7 separate regions of the Homo sapiens genome follow, and all the other regions are linked to region 5. The links are contacts of gene promoters, found by promoter capture Hi-C in blood cells and fetal thymus (Javierre and others, 2016). All regions are on one chromosome and are shown on one strand. The core of a region is centred on a gene start or on the middle of the fragment in contact, and the rest is flanking DNA. Distances in the headings are between cores, read along the strand shown. Region 1 overlaps TRIM55 (tripartite motif containing 55). Region 2 holds the start of DNAJC5B (DnaJ heat shock protein family (Hsp40) member C5 beta). Region 3 overlaps DNAJC5B (DnaJ heat shock protein family (Hsp40) member C5 beta). Region 4 overlaps DNAJC5B (DnaJ heat shock protein family (Hsp40) member C5 beta). Region 5 holds the start of RRS1 (regulator of ribosome synthesis 1). Region 6 overlaps LOC105375883 (a long non-coding RNA gene). Region 7 overlaps DNAJC5B (DnaJ heat shock protein family (Hsp40) member C5 beta).

Region 1 (3,364 bases), core at 662-3,161, 290 kb before region 5:
CCTTAGGGATGGGAAATGAAGTAGTCCCTGGGGTGGGTATTATCCTTCCATAATTACACAGCCTCTCCCCGCCTGGGGCACTGACACCTGCCCCAGAGCCCTTTGGTGGCTGTGCTTTCCTTGCACATGTCTAATTTTGTCCTAATCATGTAATGTCACACAGGACTGGCCTGGGGAGGCACCTGTCCCAAGACCAGCCCTGAAGCAATGCTGAGCTTAGGGTAAATTACACTGTGGACTCCTTGTTATCCTTTAAGAATAATGTCTGCATTAACATGAATTTACTGTGATAATGAAGAAGGATTTGAGAATGCCTATAGTTGCAAAAGGGTGGTTTGAAAGGGGGAGTGGCATTTTCCTTCCATGCTGTGGGCTGATGGTGAATGAACTGAGCCGTGAGTCTTTTTACCTCCGCTTCTTGAGAGTGGCTTGGCCTAAGACGTTCCCTGAACTCCGGACTGCAGGCTGATGGAGGGCTTCTGGGCTGTTCCATGAGCCCAGCATGATCTGAAGGTTCACTTGCCTTTCTAGGCCTGGAGCTGTTCTGGAACAGAATGGAACTGGATGGGGGGCTGCCTGTAGGAATGGAAATGTCCACTGGGGAGCTCTCTGCTTCCAGGGAAACATGCTTGACTTTCACTTCTCATCCCTAGAGAACATAATCTACCTCTTGTGAACTTTACCAGTGGAACTTATCCTATGTCACTGGATACTTAAGGGCACAGGCTGTTAATACTGGCCATCCCAAAGGCAGGCTGGCAGGCCTAGAAACATCCCTGTTTTGTATGGCCTGTCTAGTGGAAACTGTTCCAAGTAAATAATAAATATTTGATATTGAGCATTTCCAATCTCTGAAAAAGGACAACTTGAATAAAACCCTCCAATGATTTTGCAGTGATAACAAATTCATTGTATTTCCAAAACAGTGATTTTACCCAAAATGACCATTTCTAGTCTCTGAGACATTGTCCATGCCATTACAAATATGAAGTATGAATATAATTAGAGTTGTTTAAATACCATGCCAGAATTTTAAAGGCAATATAACATATGTTTAAAAGAACAGATTTCAGAGTTTGAGTTTTAGTTCTGTTGCTTAATTACACGACACTGGGCATGTTACTTAAGCTTCCTGTCTCTCGGCTTCCTCAGCGTTACAGTGGGGATGATAATACCTTCTTCACAGCATTGTCATGATGACGAAGTTGAAATAAGAGGTACATTCCAGGGGCTTGGTAAATGTCACCTTACAGCCTCAGAGTCATCTTGGAAAGCACACACTTATTCTGATGATGTGATCCAATAGGAACCTCTAGAGATTCTGGAGCATCTTTTAAATGATGTCAGAAGACTATCAGGTCCTAGTTAATTGTGATGGCAGGACTGAGCATCTCCCTCTAGAGGGACACGTTGAGAATGAATGGAGCTACAAATGACTTCCGTTATTTATCTAAGAGGCTTTGTGGCAACTGGAAATATAGGCAACCAAGGGAGACTGAGCCTCTTCTGGGAAACATGGTGACTACCCACAGCAGACCAGAGTGAGATAAACATCTGCTCAGTCTGACAAGTGGCTTTCACTGAACCATGGGGTTCCTGTCAGAACAGGCCCACCTGGCCCTCAGCCCTTATAGCGTCTACTCAAGAAGATTCTAAATGATCTGGCTTAGCCCAGAAAAACCAAAATGCCAAGAACCCCAAGAGTAAGTGTTAGAAATCCCTCAAATTACCGTATAATTATCCTTCGAACATGGAGCGGCAACATGAAGTAGTAGAAAAGAGCCTGAGTTTGGAAGACCCGAGATCCACAGCCACTGAATGGAGTTGTTTGCTGAGCACTACACAAAGGGGCCAGCTGGTGGAGGGCTGAATCCCAGCCTGGGTGCCCAGAAGTTGGTGTCTCTGTAGTTTATCTGTCCCCTTTCTAGGGACACCCTAGTCTGTACTCATGGGACTTCTCCAAGTGCTTGTAACTGGAGCTTTATGAATGAAAGGCTGGATTTGATTTTCTTGGAAGGAACTTCTTACTTTAATGTAGTTCTTTTTTCAGTATTGTTAATCTACAGGCTGCTTTTCTTTTCTTTTTTGGAGGGTTGGTGGCAGGAAATCCTGTTTGCTTATTGAAGGGAATTTTGAAGTTCCTTATTTCAAATGAAGGTATAGCTCTAACAAGTATGTCTCGATGAATGTTGGAGGAATGTGGTGGAGATATGAATGGGCCTAATCAAGCCACAGTTGCTCAGTGACAAGTGGTGGGTCTAAGAGCTTATCTTCAGCTCTATTTTGGTCACAGAGCTGTGTTCCTTACATGGTAAGAGCAGTGGTCATTGTTGCTTTAGGTTTTTTTCCTATTGTGGCCATGGCACGTGTGCAAGCTAGTGCTGAGCTTTCAGGGCTAGGACATGTAATGTATATCTTAATGCTGTCGATGACACAAGACTTGCCAGGAACAGAGGGAAGCACATCATAGCCTAATGACTCTCTGAAACTTCTTCACATTTACCTGAAATTAGAGAGTCTTGGCACTGTAGAGTCAGAAGGGACTTTAGCAATTATATAATTCAGTCTTTCACTGTACAAATACAAACATACTAACAACTGTCCTGAGGTTCAATGGTTTCCCAAAGGTTGCATAGCTATATTTTACTGGTTTCTTGGTTTTTGGGTTTTTTTTTTTTTAACACTGAATGAAGCAGAAGCTTGGAATATCCACTTAAATACCTATTTCTTTGGAACAGAACAAAACTGAAGCTTTTGCATGAAGGCTGAATATTTCTAGATGCAAGTCACATTTTATTCATTCATTCATTCATTATTTCAATCTATATTTCTCGAGGGTGCATTGTGTGCCATGTTCTGTACACATAATGCTGGGAACTAGTGATGAGCTAAACATAAAAGGTTCTGTTCACAGGCATTTTTTATTCTAATAGAGGAGTTAGGCAGTAATCAAATGAACAACAAGATCATTTTAGAGAGTGATAATTACCTGAGAGAAAAGTGAACCAATAAAAATCTAGCCATTTAAAACAGTGGTATGATGGTGCTTTGCTTGGAAGGCTGTCTTCTCTTTTAATGTAAGGTCATCTATTGTTGATTTTTCTTTCCATGAAATGTTCTCTTTACAGTTGCATATTTTGTTTTTCTTATTACTACTAAAATATAAAGGTGGCTAGAAATTGGAGTCTGCCAATTTTAACATTTCCATGATGGCAACAGTTCAACAATGGCTTTAGGTCAATGTTAAATGTTACCTACTCACTTCTAAGGAAACAACCAAATGACCATTTGATTTTTTTTCTTTACATCCAGAAATGTTGGCATTGGTTAGAAACAAATATCCCACCCATCATCATCTTACCAT
Region 2 (3,209 bases), core at 282-2,781, 410 kb before region 5:
TTCCTTGTTACTCAAAGGGTTGCTTAAGGCAGTGGCCTTCAAGTGTGTTCTGGGACCAAATGACAATTTCTCCCCAACCAGCAAAGCCCTGTGGTGGGGAAAAGGCTTGGTGGAAGATCTGGTTTGTAGTTAATGTTAAGTAACCTTTCCACTTAATTAGCTTTGTGATCTCGTGCAAGACACAACTTCTCTAAGCTATAATTTTCTCATCCAGAAAATTATACTGAAAATAATACTTTGTTTATCTCACCAAGTTGTGAAGATTAAATAGAGTGATATGTGTGAAAATAGCTTGTAAATGAAGCATGATGTAAAATGTTATTGGTATTATGAAAGCCCAATATATGTTCTCCTCTTGAGAGATTCTTAAAGCACAATTCTCTGACTTCACAGATACGTCGTCTGATGCAATACAGATACTTTTTAGTATCATATGGGGTTAGCGTCTAGAAAAAGTGAAGGGTATGAAATAATGAAGAATGAAATTCCAGTGAGACTCTATTTCTTTACAGATTGCTCCTCCCTGTCCCTTACTCAACACTAGAACCTGGTATAGCGCTGTAATCAATACTCTGTGTGTGTGTGTGTGTGTGTGTGTGTGTGTGTGTGTGTGTGTGTGTGTGTGTGTGTGTTTTAGACAAGGTTTCATTCTGCCGTCCAGGCTGGAGTGCAGTGGTGCAATCTCAACTCATTGCAGCTTCGATATCTTGGGTTTAAGCGATCATCCCCTGTCAGCCTCCTGAGTAGTTAGAACTACAGGCACGCACAACTACGCCCAGCTAATTTTTGTATTTTTTGTAGAGATAGGGTCTCACTATATAGCTCGGGCTGGTCTCAAACTCCTGGGCTCAAGTGATCCTCCCACCTCAGCCTCCCAAAGTGCTGGGATTACAGGCATGAGCCATCTCGCCCTGCCAACACTAACTCTGGACTTTCATTTGAGCTTTGCTGCTTATCATCAAATCTCAATGAAAACATTAGTTGCTCAGAAGTCACCTTACTTGTTAATCTAGAAATGGTCTGGTGGCTCAGGATTTCTGAGTCTGGGCTGGGACCAGAGCCAGCTACTCCTGGCACCTGTGTTGCTGGGGAAACATGATCTTCACTGAGACTCTGTTCTCTTCCCATAATGTACATTATCCAAATGGTCTCTTGTTGTGGGTGGATTCGGGTAAAAATTGTCTTCACCACGTGGGGCCTCAGTTTCCTCATCTGCAAAAAAAAAGGAGTTAGATGAGAATCTGGTCACTAGCCGGTCTTCTAGGTCTCTCCCCACAGTTAAGATCCCATAATTCTGCAGGTCAGTTTATGACCTGCAAAGGGATTCTTCCCTGAGGGCCCTCACAAGGTTTTGAATGGCAGAGCAAATGGAAATGGGGGAATGTCCTTCCCAACCTCCCACCATGGGCAGGAGAGGAAGTGTTGTCCAAGAGGGCCTCAGCTGGACCATCTGGAGGAGTGAGGATTCCACTCTGTGACATCACAATATCCAGCCCAGGTTTGACCTTGACAACTGGGAAGGAGAAATAACAGGAGGCGCAGTTACTGATATAGCCAAGGTGGGACACTACTGGAGGGAGCTAGAAGGGATCAGCCAGCCATGCCTCCAGTTCAGGTACTTGGCATTGCTAAGCTCAGAACAGGACTTGCCAGTGTCTAGATGAAAAAGAGGAGAGATCTCAAGGTGAGTGTGTCTCCAAGCTTAAGAAGAATAGTATAAGCACAGACGGCTTGTGCCCCAGCTGCGTTAGGGTAATGTAAGGTTCCACACGAGCAGAAGCAGAGCTGGGCGCATCTTGCCAACAGCCAGGCTGCTTGCCATGAAGCCGGACGGTGAGGACATTTCCGAGGCTGTAGTCCACTTGTGCTGCTGGTGATATATTTCTATTTAGAGGTTTTTTTCTTTCAATAGCTCCTCCCCGGATGACAGGGTAGAGTAAACAAAAATAAGTTAACTAAGGAAGTATTTTAATAGAAGCCAGTACAAAAACAAACAAAAGTAATAAAAGGTGCAAAGTTGTATTATGGGTTAGCAAGCAAGACTGACTCTAAGGTCAAGTTTTGAAAGTTCAAATCTTGAAAGGCAAAAGGATACCCCTATAAAGAGTAAAAGAGAAGGGCCTTTTGGTTGAGAAGTAAGTAAAACAGCTCTGCTGGAACATATACCGGACCCCCCACCCCGCCCCCAGCAACTCCTGCCAGTGAAATCATTGCTGGGGATGCGGACAGTTCTGTTTTCTTTACCTTGCCTTGGGGTTTTGGCTTCTACAATACTTGTTTCTTCCTGGAGTCTTGGGGCCCTGAGAGGCTCTGAGTGACGGCAAAGAACTGTTCTGTTTACCAGTGGGGCGGAGCATGGGGCCAGCGCCAGGCCCTGACTCATCCCCATGTGGACTCCCTTGGGTCTTAGCACACTGCGACCCCGGAGTTGGAGCACAGGACAGCTCAGGCAGGCACGCTGAGCTCTGCCTGCAAGGTCAGAGTTGATGGCGATGCTCCCTCAGTGGGAGTAAGAGTCCATGTTCTGACAGGTAGGTCAGTTACCCACAGGGGACCCCAACAGCCATCGACAAGAAGAGGAGGAGATGGATTCTCTATCCACAGGACACAACTCTAACTCTCCTTGGCCTCCAACACATCACGAATAAATATATCACAGCAGTAAGGTCAATACTCTCACACTCTATGAAAGTAGTAATAGTCCCCAAAGCATGTAAAACTGAGAGATCCAGATAAAAGCAAAATATACTTGCACATAAACTTCATAGCACACATTCAACTTCTGTACAGAAGTCACTGTGATTTTCACAATTAGGTTATGATCTAATCATAACCACTTAAGACTTGAACATTAAAATCTCATTGGCCCAGTTTTTAGGCTTCCTTCATTGATAGCCATTGAAAACTAAGTTTAAGCTGAACCTCAGATAATACCCACAAAACACAGAATGTCCTAACTCATCTCCATTTGCATTTGTTGACTGTAACGTTCCCTGATCCTTGTGTTAGTCACATGCTGCTGCAGCCTGTCGCATACTGCAGAATTTTAGAGTCGGAGGGGAACTAGAAGATCATCCATTCCACAGCTTCGTTTCCAGGAGAAACCACACAGAGAAGTGTCTCAGCTAAGGGTATCAAGCTAGTTAGTGCTGGGGACTAAAGTTTAAGCCCCCTCACTCTTAGCCTGGTGGCCTCTCCAATACACTCTG
Region 3 (3,079 bases), core at 542-3,041, 340 kb before region 5:
AAAATCAGGTAGTGTGATTCTTCCAACTTTATTTTTTTTTACAAAATTGTTTTGGCTCTTCTAGTATCTTTGCTTTTCCATATAAATTTTAGAATCAAGTTGTCTATATCTACAGAAAAATCCTGCTGGGATTTTTATTGGAATTGCATTAAATTTGTAGATCAGCTTGGAAAGAATTGACATCTTTACTATGTTGAATATTCCAATCCATCAACAATATGTATCTCTACTTATCCACGTCTCATTTGATTTCTTTCATGAACATTTTGTAGTTTTTGGCATACAAAGCTGGTAATGTCTTGTTAAATGGGTACCTAAGTATTTCATTTTGGAGAGAGCTATTGTAAGTGGCATTGGTTTTAATTTTGCTTGCAGTTGTTCATTGCAAGTATTTACAATTTCTTTTTATATTGCCTTTGTATCCCATGTCTTTGCTAAACTCATTTAACAGTTTGGATTTTTGTGTGTGTGTAAATTCCTTGGGATTTTCTATGCAGACAATTATATCATCTACAAATAGAAACAGTTTTATTTCTTCCATTCCAATCTGTATTCCTTTTGTTTCTTTTTCTTGCCTTGTTGCACTGTCTAAGATTTCTAGCACTTGGTTTGCTGCTGTGCTGTCACTGTCTTAAAATTCTTAATTTTTGAATAAGGTACCTCACATTTTCATTTTGAACTGGGTTTGGCAAGTTATATAGCCACTACTGAGGATATTTCCTTGTGTGTACTATAAATCAGGATTTCAAGTTTGATGACTTTTGCCAACAGAAATTTTTCTTTGAAGGAACTATTAGCTACCTTTACATTTACATTAAAAAATCTACATTATATAAAGATGTTTAAAAGAACAGAGGAGCCAACCCTCACTGGCAAGGAAGAAGACAAAATGCCTCCAGAGCATAATACTCTGGTTTTAGGGAAGGGGAAAACTAATTAAGATGAGACAAGGTGGGATGGGGAAGACTAAGTGGAGCCAGGGCTTTATATTAATTACCCATCTAAATTCTATGTTACAGATTATTATATTGTACTTGGAGATTTGACCAGCATATGAAGATTACCACAGGAAATTAATTTTTCATACATGAGCACTAATTTTAAGGAAATATGGTTAGCAGTTCTTTCTTCTATTATTCTCCCCATCTTTTATCCAGAAATGTCAAGATGCAAAGTATAGTAAAACTGATATGGGGCAATCTTTACTCCAGAATAAAAGTAATAGCTACTTAACACTTTGTCTTCTTATACCTTACTATACTAAAAAATAAGAGAAAGGAACAGGGATTAACTAGGGAAATACATTTATGATTTGAATTCAGTTACTGTATTAGTCTGTTTTCACACTGTTATAAAGATACAACCAGAGTATGGGTAATTTATAAGCAAAAGAGGTTTAATTGACTCACAGTTCCTCATGGCTGAGGAGGCCTCAGGAAACTTACAATCATGGCAGAAGGTGAAAAAGAAGCAAGCACCTTCTTCATAAGGTGACAGGTGAGAGAGAGTGAGCAAAGGGGAAGTTCCACACTTTTAAACTTTCAGATCTCATGAGAATTCACTCACTATTGTGAGAATGGGATGAGGGAAACCAGCCCCATAATCCAGTCACCTTCCACCAGGTCCGTCCCTCAACTCATGGAGATTACAATTTGAGATAAAATTTGATAGGGACGCAGAGCCAAACCATATCATTCTGCCCCTGGCCCATCCCAAACCTCATGTCCTTTTCACATTTCGAAACCAATCATGCCTTCCCAATAGTCCCCAAAAGTCTTAACTCATTCCAGCATCAACTCAAAAGTCCAAGTCCAAAGTCTCATCTGAGACAAGGCACATCCCTTCTACCTATGAGCCTGTAAAATCAAAAGCAAGTTAGTTACTTCCAAGATACAATGGAGGTACAGGCGTTGGGTAAATGTTCCCATTCCAAATGGGAGAAACTGGTCAAAACAAAGGGACCACAGGCCCCAGACAAGTCTGAAACCTGGCTGGGCAGTCATTAAATCTTGAAGCTCCAAAATCTCCTTTGATTTTATGTCTCATATCTAGGGCATGTTGATGCAAGAGGTGGGCCCTCACAGCCTTGGGCAGCTCTGGCCCTGTGGCTCTGCAGGGTACAGCCCCTGCAGCTGCCTTTCCCAGCTGGCATTGAGTGCCTGTGGCTTTTCCAGGTTCTTGGTGCAAGCTATTGATGGATCTACCTTTCTAGGATCTGGAGGATGGTAGCCTTCTTCTCACAGCTCCACTAGGCAGTGCCCCAGTAGGGACTGTGTGTGGGGGCTCCAAACCCATATTTCCCTTCTGCATTGCCCCAGCAGAGGCTCTCCATGAGGGCTTTACCCCTGCAGTAGACTTCTGCCTGGACATCCAGGCATTTCCATACATCCTCTGAAATCTAGGTGGAGGATCCCAAAGTTGAGCTCTGGTCTTCTGCACACCAGGAGGCCCAATACCACGTGGAAGCCACCAAGATTTGAGGCACCCTCTGAAGCAATAGCCTTAGCTGTACCTTGGCCCCTTCCAGCCTCATCTGGAGCTGGAGTGGCTGGGATGCAGGGCACCAAGTCTTGAAGCTGCACAGAGCAGTGGGGCCCTGGCCCTGGCCCAAGAAACCATTTTTTTTTCTCCTAGGCCTCCAGGCTTGTGATGGGAGGTCCTTCTGTGAAGGTCTGTACATGCCCTGGAGACAGTTTCCCCATCATCTTGGCTATTAACATTCAGCTTCTCGTTACTTATGCAAATTTCTGCAGCAGGCTTGAATTCCTCCCCAGAAAATGGATTTTTCTTTTCTACCATATAGTCAGGTTGCAAATCCAAACCTTATGCTCTGCTTGCCTTTTAAACATAAATTCCAATTTCAAACCATCTCTTTGTGAACACATATAACTGAAGGCTTTCAGAATCAGCCAGATCACCTCTTGAATGCTTTGCTGCTTAGAAATTTCTTCCACCAGATACCCTAAATCATCTCTTTCGAGTTCAAGGTTCCATAGATCTCTAGGGCAGGGGCAAAATGCTGTCAGTCTCTGCATGAGTGACCTTTGCTTCAGTTCCCAACAAGTTCCTCATCTCCGTC
Region 4 (3,239 bases), core at 352-2,851, 370 kb before region 5:
ATTGTCCACCAAGCCATGTTGCCACCCTGTAGCTGATGCTGCTTTGCCATTTGCTGTGTGGGCATGTCCACAGTCACTGCTAGACATAACCTTGGGTGCTAGACTCTGCTGCTGCAGCTCCCCTGCCACTCAGCTGCATCACCCTGCCAGGCACGGTAGGCACAGAAGGTGCTCCTTGCCAACCTCTCAGTCCCCAAGTCCCGACCGCTCCTTCAGGCCCAGAAGCCTCTTCTGCTGTTTACCTTGAGAGCCGAGGGAACACCAAAGCCTGCTGGGCTGTACCTCTGGCAGGATTGAGGCTGGGCATAGTGGATGGCTCCTTTCCTCCTCTTTGTGATATGCTCTGTTAGAGCCCCCTATGAGTTCAAAGCATGGTAGAAAAGCTCCTTCCAGTTTTCCTTGTAGCTCTGTTTTTCTCTAGGACCCAGACACATGCTCAGGGGGTGAGCCAGACACTAGCAGTAATGTCGCTCTGCTTAGACTCTAGATCTCATCCAACAGACCCCCCTCCTCTTGTGTCAAGGTCATCACACCTGGCTCTTTCCTAAGATGCATTCTTTTCCAGAAGATTCTACAGTTCCCTCCCCAGACTAAGAGAGGTTTGTGTCAGGCTGTACCACTGGTTCTTTAGACGTACCCAGCTGGGGCTGTCACAGCCGTGGCTTGTATTCCTTTCTGGAAGCCTCTTCAGCTCTCTGGGACTTCTGGGAGGCCACTGCTACCAGCTTTCCAAACACATCCTGATGTGCCCTAACCCCGTGCAGTGAACAATGGGCGACAATGACTCAAAGAGCAGCCCTACCGTATTCCTGCAGCAAGTCCACCTGATTCTGTGTTGAACTGGGTAAATAAAGTGTATTATTTTACTGTTTGTTGCTCAGCAAGAACTGTGGGTGTGTGATTAGGTTTCCTCTTTTCTTGTTGGCACATAAAGGACCTTCACTCCAAAGTCATTAGATTGTTGATCCATACTGCTACCTAATGATAGCAGAAGCCAAGAAGGCTGATCAGAGCACGTAGCAACCACCAGTATGTCTAGAGTCTCTGACACTATCAATGGCTTTATACCAGCAAGTCTGGTTCATTATTCAACGAATATGTATTGAGCACCGCCTCTGTGTTGGCCACTGTCCTAGGTAAAATAGCAGTGAACAAAACAGACCTGCTTCCTTAAACCTGTTTTAAATAGGGCCAGGGGAAGGGGGAGGCTTAATAATGAACACATAAGTAAGACACACAACATATCAGATGTTGCTAAATGCTAGGAAGAAAAGCAGAAGAGGGTAGGGAGTGTTAGGTAGGAGTATGCTGGAAGTTTTACATTCTCTTTGAGATGTTCACATAAACACTAAAATCACTCCATTGAAGTGTATTCTAAATATAATGTAGCAGTTAAGAGCACAGGGTATTTCTGAGTGTGGTGGTGCTTGCCTATAGTCCTAGCTACTCAGGAGGCTAAGGTGGGAGGGTCTCTTGAGCCCAGGAGTTTGAGGCTGTAGTATGCTATGACTGAGCCTGTGAATAGCCACCGCACTCCAGCCTGGGCAACACAGAAAGATCCCATATCTAAAAATGAGTGCAAGGTATTCGGAAAGACCTGAATTCAACTCACTTTTCTCAGCCTCATTCTCTTCATAAGTAAAGTGCAGATAATGATCCAATCTCAGAGGGTTGTGGAGGATTACATGAGATGATGCATGCAAAATGCTTAGCCAGGGTTTGGCACATGGGTACTGGGTGCTACAAAGGATATACAAGGGCCTGAGAACCAACCATACATAATGGCAGTTTCCAAACTCAGCTAGGGCACGGGTGCAGGGTGACGTGCCAAGAAGTGTTGAGTATGTGAATGAGAAAGAATGGATAGAGAGAGAGAGAGAGAGAGAGTGTGTGTGTGTGTGTGTGTGTGTGCGCGTGTATAAGGGGTACTTAGATTATGTGACATTTAGATTCCATTGAATACATTTAAAAGAATGTTACAACTGTTTTATTTTAACATGCTGATGTTTATAATATGCTGAAAATTACATTCTTTGCATCTGTTTAATCTTATAAAAATTTTTAGATGCCAAGTTAAAAATGTTGAAGGGACACAGTTTCTCAATATTATTTTAAGAGGTGTCTAAGCAAAAAGAATTGAACTGGGGGTGGGGAGGACAGAAGAAACCCAAACATCCCACCGAGAGTGATGACAAGGAGGCATTCAGGTGGCTTCGGGGAGTGGCAGCCTGTGGGGGCGCAGCCGAGCCCCTTCCTGAGGGCTTTCCTTTGCTTCCTGGCCCACTGCGCTGTTCCAGCAGAGCACTGCAGCCTCACAGACAGTAGTTCCCTTGCTGCTTTTCTGCCTCTCCCATTCCATCAGTTCCTTGAGGGCAGACACTGTGCCTGGTCTCTCACTGTACTTTCAGCCCTAGCACCATGCTAGTATTTGCTGAATGCAAAAAAGAATTAGAAAATAGAAAATGTCTGGAAAATGTCTGTTTTCTCCTCGATTATAGTCTCAGCTTCTTCAGGACCATTTCTCAAATAATTAGTTTGGTCACTTTGCTGAACAGGGAGTTATTCACTGACCCAATAAACAGAGGAGGGGCAGATCAGAAAGGAAAGATACTAGCTTCCATCTGGGATCCAGAGCATTTTGTATGATTCTGGGACCTTCAAGTGAAAAGTAGTTAGGGGATAAGAAAAGGAAAACTAAAAAAACAGCCAGATATGCAATTTAGAGAATGTGTCTTCAGAGTTTAAAATCTCATTTGTAACATAAACATTGGTTTTTATTTACACCAATACATACATTTTTGAAGTGAGCTGGAAACAAGATTAAGATGCCCCAAAGTGAGGCTGACTGGTTTCTCTAGCATGTTGGGTGCAAGAGCCTAACAAAATGCTGGGTAAGAAATCATGCAAAGATCTAGCTCTTCCTTGGCTTTTTAGAGAGCCACAAAATTGGAGTGAGGCTGGCTGTGGTGGCTGTTGCCTGTAATCCCAGTAATTTAGGAGGCTGAAGTGGGAGGATCAATTGAGCCCAGGAGTTTGAGGCTGCAGTGAGCTATAATCATGCCACTGCACACCAGCCTGGGTGACAGAGCGAGATCCTGTCTCTAAACAAAACAAAACCCTAAATAGATATTAACGTATAGACAGGCTTGGTGGCATGTGCCTGTGGTCCTGGCTATTTGGGAGGCTGAGGTGGGAGGATCTCTTGAGCCCAGGAGTTTGAGGCTGCAGTAGGCCATGAT
Region 5 (3,068 bases), core at 3-2,502:
ATTAATAACATAGTTAATACTAATAGCTAACACATACTGAGTTCTTACCATGTAGCAGTAACTAATGTTTTATGTTTGTCAATTTATAAATAAGGCTTAGATCAAACATCCTCTCCAAGTAATGGTGACCTGATACCTGATTGTAGGCCGTTTGACTCATACTTAACACCATGTAGCACTTACCTCCCAGAGCCTATGAAAATGAAATAATAATCGGTATTTGGCTAATTTGTACTGAGTACTCATACGCTCCAGGCCCTCGTCTAACCCTCCCTTGGACGATATTAACTCATTTATCTTATAACCACCCTAGGAAGTATTATTATCATTATCTCGCAGGCCTTAAAACGGCCTCAACAAGTAAAATTGCTGAAGGACCAACAGTGGCACAGTCAGGATTGGAACCCAGGCAGTGTAACTGCAGAGCGTGGCTTAGTTTCAGCACTGTACTAGATTAATTGAACTAGACTAGGTTCTGTAACTGCAGAATCCCGGATCTCCGAGTCAGCTAGCTCACTAGGGTCGGTGCACACCCGCGCCCACTCGGGGTGGCTTCATTGCCAGAGCCACTGACTCCCAAAACAAAACGAATCTTCTACAATTAGCTCTATGTGTATCTTTGGGATGTTATCTTTCTCGGGCCACAACTAGGAACCCTGAAAGCCGACTATGACTCCAGTGAAACTATTTGGCCCTAAGAAGGGTGATTGTCTAAACATCTTCACAACGGATTTACACTGAAATTGTAACACGCACTTGATTGGAACCCCACACCACAGGCAGTCCCAGGAATTTGTACCCGCCCCGGTCCCGGACCGCGCCCCTGGACAAACCCTCCGGCCCGCCCCTCCGGATTGAGCCCCAAGACTGTCCCCGGACCACCATCCTAAGACCACTCCCTGAACTGCCCCCCCCAAGACCGCCCCCTAGATCGCCCCCCGGGACCGCCCTCTCTAGACCGCCTGCGAGACTGTCCCCGGACCGCCCCCTGGACCACCCCCTAGGCGGCCCCCCGAGCTGTCCCTGGACCGCCCTCTAGACCGCCTCCCGCCCCCTGCATCCTGGGAATCGTAGTCCCAATCCTGCTCTGGAACTAGCAGTGCGGCCTGCTCGGGCCAGCTCCGCCTCTATCTGGCGCCAGCCTAAAGGTCCCGCTTCTAATCCCATCATCTCTCCATACCGCCCTCTGCCGGCCTTTCCTCTGGTCGCCCGGATTGCGAGCCGCTTCCGGACGCTCCGGAAGCGAACCTTTCTTTTCCGGATTGGGCATCCCGGCATCTGCACGTGGTTATGCTGCCGGAGTTTGGGCCGCCACTGTAGGAAAAGTAACTTCAGCTGCAGCCCCAAAGCGAGTGAGCCGAGCCGGAGCCATGGAGGGCCAGAGCGTGGAGGAGCTGCTCGCAAAGGCAGAGCAGGACGAGGCAGAGAAGTTGCAACGCATCACGGTGCACAAGGAGCTGGAGCTGCAGTTTGACCTGGGCAACCTGCTGGCGTCGGACCGGAACCCCCCGACCGGGCTGCGGTGCGCCGGACCCACGCCGGAGGCCGAGCTACAGGCCCTGGCGCGGGACAACACGCAACTGCTCATCAACCAGCTGTGGCAGCTGCCCACGGAGCGCGTGGAAGAGGCGATAGTGGCGCGGCTGCCGGAGCCCACCACACGCCTGCCGCGAGAGAAGCCTCTGCCCCGACCGCGGCCACTTACACGCTGGCAGCAGTTCGCGCGCCTCAAGGGCATCCGTCCCAAGAAGAAGACCAACCTGGTGTGGGACGAGGTGAGTGGCCAGTGGCGGCGGCGCTGGGGCTACCAGCGCGCCCGGGACGACACCAAAGAATGGCTGATTGAGGTGCCCGGCAATGCCGACCCCTTGGAGGACCAGTTCGCCAAGCGGATTCAGGCCAAGAAGGAAAGGGTGGCCAAGAACGAGCTGAACCGGCTGCGTAACCTGGCCCGCGCGCACAAGATGCAGCTGCCCAGCGCGGCCGGCTTGCACCCTACCGGACACCAGAGTAAGGAGGAGCTGGGCCGCGCCATGCAAGTGGCCAAGGTCTCCACCGCCTCTGTGGGGCGCTTTCAGGAGCGCCTCCCCAAGGAGAAGGTGCCCCGGGGCTCCGGCAAGAAAAGGAAGTTTCAACCCCTTTTCGGGGACTTTGCAGCCGAGAAAAAGAACCAGTTGGAGCTGCTTCGTGTCATGAACAGCAAGAAGCCTCAGCTGGATGTGACTAGGGCCACCAATAAGCAGATGAGGGAGGAGGACCAGGAGGAGGCCGCCAAGAGGAGGAAAATGAGCCAGAAGGGCAAGAGAAAGGGAGGCCGGCAGGGGCCTGGGGGCAAGAGGAAAGGGGGCCCGCCCAGCCAGGGAGGGAAGAGGAAAGGGGGCTTGGGAGGCAAGATGAATTCTGGGCCGCCTGGCTTGGGTGGCAAGAGAAAAGGAGGACAGCGCCCAGGAGGAAAGAGGAGGAAGTAATAGTTTCTAACTGTCGGACCCGTCTGTAAACCAAGGACTATGAATACTAAATGTTAAGTTCTAGGCAATTATACGGGGACTCAGAAGGACCTGGCCGCTGCCTTCATTGAGTTTAAAGGGACAGGATTGCCCTTCCGTCAAGAAAGTATGTAAGTGTTGGACTGCACAAATTAATGTTTTTCCCACAACCGAGACTTTGGAGATTAAGAACTTATTTGAGGATTTAAGAATTAGGGAAATAATTTGGTGGAAACCGGGAATGAGTTCTATTCTTAAACAGCCTTTTTTTTTCTTTTTAATGTTGGATATACGGCGAGGTAGAGTTGGCCATATTTCAGAGACTTAGATTGACGTATATGTTTCTGCATTATTTTTACAACAAGTTTGTGTATCAGAGCGGGAGTGCGGGGGAGGGAAAGAAAACAAACAGTTTCAGAATTGAATAGGCAAGTGACTGTTTTAAAGATTAAGTAATAAAGATGTCTTATCTAGTGTGACTTTTAACTTTCTGACTACTGGGTAGAAATTGTACTTGAAGCCGGTTACCTGGATACCTGGTACAGATTATTTTTGTTTACTTTCTGAAAAACACAAAGCAGG
Region 6 (3,302 bases), core at 566-3,065, 420 kb before region 5:
TCAAGCCGTTGAATGATCACATATCAGAAAAACTGAATTGGTCATTTTGTGTCAATATGTGCATGGACAGAGTTGCTACCATGACTGGATGGCTCTCTGGTTTCACTGCTTAGACCAAAGAGGTAGCTTCTGCATGTAAGTCTATGGACTGTGTCATCTATAGAGATATGCTGGTTAGCCGAAAAATGTCATCTGAACTTAACAACGCTTTGCAGAATGTGATTAAAATTATCAACCACATTAAAGTATATGCCCTTAACTCACATCTGTTTGCTCAGCTGCATGAGGAGATGGACACAGAACACACATGTCTTCTCTTATACACAGAAGTGAGATAGCTTTCTAAAGGTAGATCACTGGCCAGAGTTTTTGAGTTACTAGAGCGGCACCAGAGATTTCTTTTAGAAAAACAGTCACCACTGGCTGCACATTTCAGTGACACAGAATGGGTCACAAAATTTGCTTACTTGTGCAACATATTCAACCTGCTCAACAGACTCAATCTGTCACTTTAGGGGAGAATGACAACTGTGTTCAAGTAGGCAAATAAAGTGGCTGCCTTCAAAGCCAAAATGGAATTATGTGAGTGACGAGTGAACATTGGAATTTCTGACATGTTTCAAACATTAGCAGAGATTTTGAAAGAGACTAAGCGAGGGCCTGGTGCATGATCACTTATCTTAGCTTTCAAAAGAGTTTAAGCATTACTTCCAACCACAAAAGACCCCCAAACTGGGAAGGAATGGGTCTGTGAACCATTTCCAAATAAGCCAGATGGGTCAACTGGTTGAGATCACAAATGACAGTGACCTTAAAAGTATGTTTGAGACAACTTCAAATCACGATACCTTCTATATTAAAGTCAAGGCAGAATATCCTAAGATTGATACAAGCGCATCGAAAAGCTTGCTGCCATTTCCAACATCCTGTCTTTGTGAAGCAGGGCTTTCTGCAGTGACAGCAACCAAAATGAGATTATGAAGTAGATTGGACATAAGCAACACACTTCAGGTGTCACTGTCTCCCATCACCCCCAGATAGGACCGTCTAGTTGGAGGAAAACAAGTCAGGGCTCCCACTGATTCTACATTATTGGGAGTTGTATAATTACCTAATCATATATTACAATGTAATAATAATAGACATAAAGTGCACAAAAATGTAATGTGCTTGAATCATCTCGAAACCATCCCCTACTCCTGGTCCATGGAAAAATTGTCTTCCACGAAACTGGCCGCTTGTACCAAAAAGTTGGGGACAACTGATGTAGTACAAAGGGGAAAGAAATAGCTAACATTTGTTGAGCCCCTACTAAGTGCTAACAACTCACTTTTCCCCATTTGATTAACATAACACTGTGCCATAAATATGACTTCCTACATTTTATAGGGGAAAGAATCTGGGGCTCAGAGTAGTGTAAGAACTTGCCCAACTTTACATGCACAGACCGTCCTGTGCATCTCAGGTATGGACCATGGAGACAGGCAGAGCAGGCCTGGGATCTGGCTCTGCCACTAACCAGCCCTGTGACTTGGGAAACCAGTGAAAAGTAGTATCCAGGATGGTCAGTTTTATACGTCAGCTTGGCTAAGCTACTGTCTCCAATTACTCAATCACAGATGCTATTCCAGGCATCGCTGTCCTCAATCAGAGAACGTGTTTTGTAGATGTTGTTAAAGTCCATAATCAATTGCCTTTAAGTAAGGAAGGTTATTCTGGATAATCTGGGTAGGCCTGATTCAATCAGTTAAAAGGACTTGAAAGCAGGGCTAAGGCTTCCCTGAAGAAGAAAGTCCATCTGTGGACCAGCTTCCCTGAGTGCCTCAAATTCCAGCCTGCCTTTCTTAATGGCCTGCCCTATGGATTTTGGACTTCCTTAACCAACCCCACAATCAAATAAACCTACACATAAAAATTCTGAATATCTCTTGCTGGTTTGGTTTCTCAGGTGGAACTCTGATACAGTGCCTCCCTCATGTGTGGTGAAGATTAACTGAAGTCATGGTATTACCAGATGGGAAGCATTTGACATGGTGCTAGGAACATTCAAACAGGTTTGAAACATGGTCATTATTACTGTGAGGACTTGGCAAACACCAGGTTAAGCCTACATCTAATTGGCTCTCAAGCCTGACACTCTACCCAGCACAGACTTGGTCAATAGCTATAGTCACCAGTTCTATCACAAATTCAGTGGGACCTACCACAAACTCAATGTGACCTTGAGCTGGCTGCAAACTCGATGGGCCCTGGCTTCCTTCCTGTAAAGTGAGGGGATTGTGTACCAAATGATTTTTGTATAAACTTCCAGCTCTGATGTTGTCTGGGTCAGTTTTGACCTAATTGATCAGATTGTTATTAGGCCATGTCTACTTCCTCCAGCCACCAGACAAGATTTGTTCCATTACTGGTACATTCAGAGCTCTTCCTTCACAAATGGCCTTCTAATTACTGGGTGGTTTATGGCCCAAGAAAATGCAAACTGAGTTTAATATTAACTTGAGCAGAGCATTCATGTCAATTTAGTTCTAGAGCTCCCACTCTGCCCCAGACGATGGGCCATACAATATATTAAAAAAGCATTAAATCTGGTCCCTGCCCTTAAGGAGCACAGGGAGACCTCCAAAAATCAGGTCCTACTGTGAGGGAGTAGGTAATTAAGACTAAGCACTATAAGAGTTGATAGTAAGGAGGCAGTGAGATCATTCTGGGCTGGAATGATCAGAAAAGCTTAGCAGAAGAGATAGGAATTTAGATAGGTGACATGTGTATGTAAGAGGTAAGAAGGAAGTTAAATCTTCCACTTTTCCAGTGCATCATGCATCTCAAAATCCAATGGGTATGATTTTGGGAGCTCTTTACATTACTGTTTGTCTTTGCTGGCAGAGAATCAAGAAGCAAATGCCATGAGATTTCAGGCTTTCTCTCCTATTCTCCCTGACATCCTCATTAACCACCATTGTTCTGCACAAAGATGAGCATGCACAGTAAGTTCACTACATCACACACATTTATACACACGTATCTGCAGATGCCCTGACAGTCCCATCATTTGTGCATCTGGGGACTCCCATAGTAGAATAAGTTTCATTAAGGTGGGTGGGTCCTAATTAATGTTTCTCTTGTCTACTGCGTATATCTTACCTTCCACAAAGCAGGCCTTCAATAAATATTTATGGAATAAATAAATGAAAGTATAATCACTCTCCAGACTATGGGAGACACAAAGGGAAAGTTTCCCTATCTGAAACTTTCAATGGCATTAAAACCCTAATAACGGTGAGTCTTACACTTTGAAGATT
Region 7 (3,308 bases), core at 635-3,134, 390 kb before region 5:
TTTCAGCACACATTAAAATTCTCTCCCCTTTGTAACTTCTCTTTAAAAGGGACTTTTTTTTTAACTTTGTAAAATGATAAAACATAATAGGAATTAACCAGTTTGTTCTTCTGAAGAAACATATAAGCACTTGATTTTACAGAAGAATTGCCAGAATTGTTCAGTAGCTACATCTTAGATAGAGTGGTAGTGACGGCTTTTTCATTTTATACAATCAAAGCAACCACCTGTTTTTTCCCTTTCCCAAGTAAGTTAACACAATGAATCTTGATCAGATGATTTATCTCTTTGAAATTTACAAGTGATGGCTTGAGTTTCATATATTGCATACTAATAACATAAATGATGTAGAGAGGTACTAAAAATAATAATATTAGTAACAATAATGCCTTTGTTCATCATGTCCTTGCACATCACATGTTCGAAACAAGTGGTGTTTGAGCCTGCTGAGATATGAAATTTAAAAGAAAGACTATGTAACCCTAATGCTTATGTGTTAGATAGCTTGGGTTGAATATTCAAATAATTGATCTGGTACCTGCTGCAGATTCTGTGGTAGTGCACCAGTCATTTCTTAAAATAGCCCTAACCATATGTGGCAATTGAAAGAGGTGTATAAGGGGTCCCTAGGAGCCCCTAAGGGAATGGTGAAGACCTCACAAATAGAGAAAACAAGGGAAATTAGCAAGTAAAACCCTCCTCCCAATCATGGTTCTATCTTAAGTTTCCTGCCTCAGAGACAGGACTTTTTGGTTCAATCTTGGAAGATATACTAAGTTCTTTTTTTCAAAACATAAATGATCCACTTGGCAATGCTTTTACAATACATTTAGTGCATTTTGAATCAAGGAATTGTTTAATGTGCTTACCATGAGTTATTTCCTTTTACAAATATCATTTGAAACTCACCATTTCTAGAAAGCCTCACCTGGTTACGTGGAATATGATCCCATTGATCTCTGGCTGTATCTTTTGATATCAGAAGCCATATGCTTATAGGCATGTAATGACGTCCTATGTATGACAGCACACATCAGAATGTCCCTTTAATTTCTCCGACTTAAGCACGTAGGACCTTTGAACATGCTCTTCCACCTGCTTGGAATATATCTGCTACTACCAGCAACTCCTTTATCTAGTTCTTTTCAGATCTCTGCCCAGTTGTTTTTGTTCAGGGAAGCTTTCTCTAATCTTCCTCTGTTCACTGATTTTACGTTCTTGCAGCATCTCTCCAAAGTCTCACTTTTCCACTTTTTTGAGTGACCATTTGATTGCTCACTGCCTGTCTTGGAAGGCTGTAACTCTTTGACTCACACACCCAGGGTCTGTGTTGACTTTTGTTTATCAGTATATTTCTAGAAGTTAGTCCAGTGTTTGAATTCAATAGGTGACTAATTGTTGAATGAATACTGCACTTTCTCTTTGAAACTCAGCTACAGTTTCACTTTGCTGAAGAGTTCTGCACTACTTAACTTTTTGAAACTAATGTTCTATGTAATACTTTAAAGATTAATGGTTAAGGAGAGTGATTCATTGTGCAAAAAGAATGACTTTTACTAAAAGTATTTCTTATTAGACTAAATTTGAAACATAAACTAAAACATACATTTTTAAAAAGCTACCCATAAGCTCACCATATTTACATAGCAACTATTTTTATTTCATCAAAGGACACTGTCCTTAAGCTGAAGTCATGCTGGAACTTGGGTATTTCATTCTAAATTTGTTTGTGTTTCTTCTTCTTCTTCCTCTTCTTCTTCTTCTTCTTCTTCTTCTCCTTCTCCTTCTCCTTCTCCTCCTTCTTCTTCTTCCTCCTACTCCTCCTTCTCCCTCTTCCCTCCTCTCTCCCCCTCCCCCTCCCCCCTCCCCCTCCTCGCACCCCTCTTCTTCGTCTTCTTCTTCCTCTTCTGTGATGATGGGCAGCTTCATAAACTCTGGCTGGAAATCCGAAGGTATCTAAAAAACTCTCAACTAGAGGTGAGAGTGCTCTGAATCATTCACACAAAATTGCCTGAAGCTGGGCTACCTGTCTTGGTAAACAGCACACTTAAACTACTCCTTCAGCCTCCAGGACCCCACTGTGCCAAATTCAGGAATAACACCTGTCTCATGTAAAACTTTTTTAGTCTGTAGGATCTTACTCTAAATCATAGGAATTGTTGTCTCACGAGACTTTTTAATGTCTGTGAGAGTATGGACATTAGCAAGAGATGCCTTAACTCTTAAAACCACCTCAGTCAGTACTGTGACTCAATGCCTCTTAACTAGGCGAGGGTTAAATATGCAGATTTGAAAATATTGGGTTAATAAATAGTGAGCAGTTAAAGTTTCCCCCTTATTAGTGTTGCATGTTCTTTCCAGTAATTTTAAATCAACTGATCAGTAGTAGCCTTAGATCAAAAAGGAAATGAAGTTTGAAGGAACCCACTTCACATGTAAGGAGATGAGCTTATTTCCTTAATGGAGAGTCCCGGTGGAGACGCTGGAGGCAGTTCCTCAGTGGTGTTTGGTTGAACCAAGCACCAGTCAACAAAGGATCAAAAGTGGGCTGCAGCATATATTTTGGTATCAGTGGATGCCTTGTAATTGCAAGCTTTACGGTCATGCATGTTTCATTCTCTCTTTGTTGTGTTTTCCAGAGGGATAACCAATTGGCTGGCAAAGTAACAAATGAAAAGTAACCTGACTCTATTGACCTGCTTAACCCTGCATGGGGGGGAAGGATGGAAAGGAGCAGCTGTTTGCTTTGAAACGGTGGAACAGGTATGGAACAGCAGCTTTTGCTGTTGCCTTCTTTTATTTCTTTGCACATCTATTTCCAGACCAGTTGAAAACAGCAAGTTGTTCCTGTTTGCGGACACAGAATCGGGGTTCCGGGTTCCAGGAACAGGTACTGTGGTTTACTAGTAACATTCTGACTTGCCCCATCTTCAGGTTGCCATTTATATAAGGATTAGTGCAATGAAAAGAACCTTTTTTTTTTTTTTTTTTCCTTTGAGATGGGGTCTCACTCTGTCACCCAGGCTGGAGTACAGTGGCGCCATCTCGGATCACTGCAACCTCTGCCTCCCAGGTTCAAGTGATTCTCCTGCCTCAGCCTCCTGAGTTGCTGGGATTACAGGCACCCGCTACCACAGCTAATTTTTGTACTTTTAGTAGAGACAGGGTTTCACCATGTTGGCCAGGCTGGTCTGGAACTCCTGACCTCAGGTGATCTACCCGCATTGGCCTCCCAAAGAGCTAGGATTACAGGTGCGAGCCCGGCCAAGAGCATTGTTTTCAAATAGCAAATAAGTAATCCTGCTAGG

Evidence for each region. The method cuts DNA at HindIII sites, captures the fragments that hold promoters and counts their contacts. A CHiCAGO score of 5 or more calls a contact.
Region 1: a contact is called between a fragment that was not itself captured here and the fragment with the promoter of RRS1 in region 5, in 4 of 17 cell types (M2 macrophages, M1 macrophages, M0 macrophages and 1 more). The highest score is 9.1, in M2 macrophages.
Region 2: a contact is called between the fragment with the promoter of DNAJC5B here and the fragment with the promoter of RRS1 in region 5, in 6 of 17 cell types (M0 macrophages, M2 macrophages, monocytes and 3 more). The highest score is 11.0, in M0 macrophages.
Region 3: a fragment that was not itself captured here is called in contact with the fragment with the promoter of RRS1 in region 5 in 3 of 17 cell types (M2 macrophages, M0 macrophages and M1 macrophages); the score reaches 8.9 in M2 macrophages.
Region 4: a contact is called between a fragment that was not itself captured here and the fragment with the promoter of RRS1 in region 5, in 16 of 17 cell types (M0 macrophages, M2 macrophages, M1 macrophages and 13 more). The highest score is 24.0, in M0 macrophages.
Region 6: a fragment that was not itself captured here is called in contact with the fragment with the promoter of RRS1 in region 5 in 1 of 17 cell types (M0 macrophages); the score reaches 6.1 in M0 macrophages.
Region 7: a contact is called between a fragment that was not itself captured here and the fragment with the promoter of RRS1 in region 5, in 17 of 17 cell types (M2 macrophages, M1 macrophages, M0 macrophages and 14 more). The highest score is 34.5, in M2 macrophages.

The regions. Positions count from the first base shown.
Region 1 is chr8:66,140,917-66,144,280 of GRCh38, forward strand. The region is part of intron 4 of TRIM55 (tripartite motif containing 55); the gene reads left to right. Among named protein-coding and RNA genes, the nearest start is that of TRIM55, 15 kb to the left of the region's middle. The HindIII fragment of the contact is 1,571 bases long and covers 1,127-2,697 here.
Region 2 is chr8:66,020,022-66,023,230 of GRCh38, forward strand. It overlaps DNAJC5B (DnaJ heat shock protein family (Hsp40) member C5 beta), which reads left to right and starts at 1,532. Exons shown (of 6, transcript NM_033105.6): 1 at 1,532-1,684. It overlaps LOC105375883 (a long non-coding RNA gene), which reads right to left and starts at 1,460. Exons shown (of 7, transcript XR_929008.3): 1 at 1,403-1,460; 2 at 1,002-1,212. The HindIII fragment of the contact is 2,733 bases long and covers 1-1,699 here.
Region 3 is chr8:66,085,715-66,088,793 of GRCh38, forward strand. All of the region lies in intron 5 of DNAJC5B (DnaJ heat shock protein family (Hsp40) member C5 beta), which reads left to right. Among named protein-coding and RNA genes, the nearest start is that of TRY-GTA5-1, 26 kb to the right of the region's middle. The HindIII fragment of the contact is 6,637 bases long and covers 1-3,079 here.
Region 4 is chr8:66,059,725-66,062,963 of GRCh38, forward strand. All of the region lies in intron 3 of DNAJC5B (DnaJ heat shock protein family (Hsp40) member C5 beta), which reads left to right. Among named protein-coding and RNA genes, the nearest start is that of DNAJC5B, 40 kb to the left of the region's middle. The HindIII fragment of the contact is 3,519 bases long and covers 1-3,239 here.
Region 5 is chr8:66,427,762-66,430,829 of GRCh38, forward strand. It overlaps RRS1 (regulator of ribosome synthesis 1), which reads left to right and starts at 1,253. Exons shown (of 1, transcript NM_015169.4): 1 at 1,253-2,972. The coding sequence starts at 1,371. The coding sequence ends at 2,468. It overlaps RRS1-DT (RRS1 divergent transcript), which reads right to left and starts at 1,216. Exons shown (of 3, transcript NR_040434.1): 1 at 1,181-1,216. The region is part of intron 1 of LOC102724687 (a long non-coding RNA gene); the gene reads right to left. RefSeq lists enhancers at 642-711, 1,132-1,501, 2,771-2,820 and a silencer at 902-991. The HindIII fragment of the contact is 6,678 bases long and covers 1-3,068 here.
Region 6 is chr8:66,003,335-66,006,636 of GRCh38, forward strand. All of the region lies in intron 4 of LOC105375883 (a long non-coding RNA gene), which reads right to left. Among named protein-coding and RNA genes, the nearest start is that of DNAJC5B, 17 kb to the right of the region's middle. The HindIII fragment of the contact is 1,825 bases long and covers 904-2,728 here.
Region 7 is chr8:66,040,849-66,044,156 of GRCh38, forward strand. It overlaps DNAJC5B (DnaJ heat shock protein family (Hsp40) member C5 beta), which reads left to right. Exons shown (of 6, transcript NM_033105.6): 2 at 2,640-2,763. Among named protein-coding and RNA genes, the nearest start is that of DNAJC5B, 21 kb to the left of the region's middle. The HindIII fragment of the contact is 1,413 bases long and covers 1,179-2,591 here.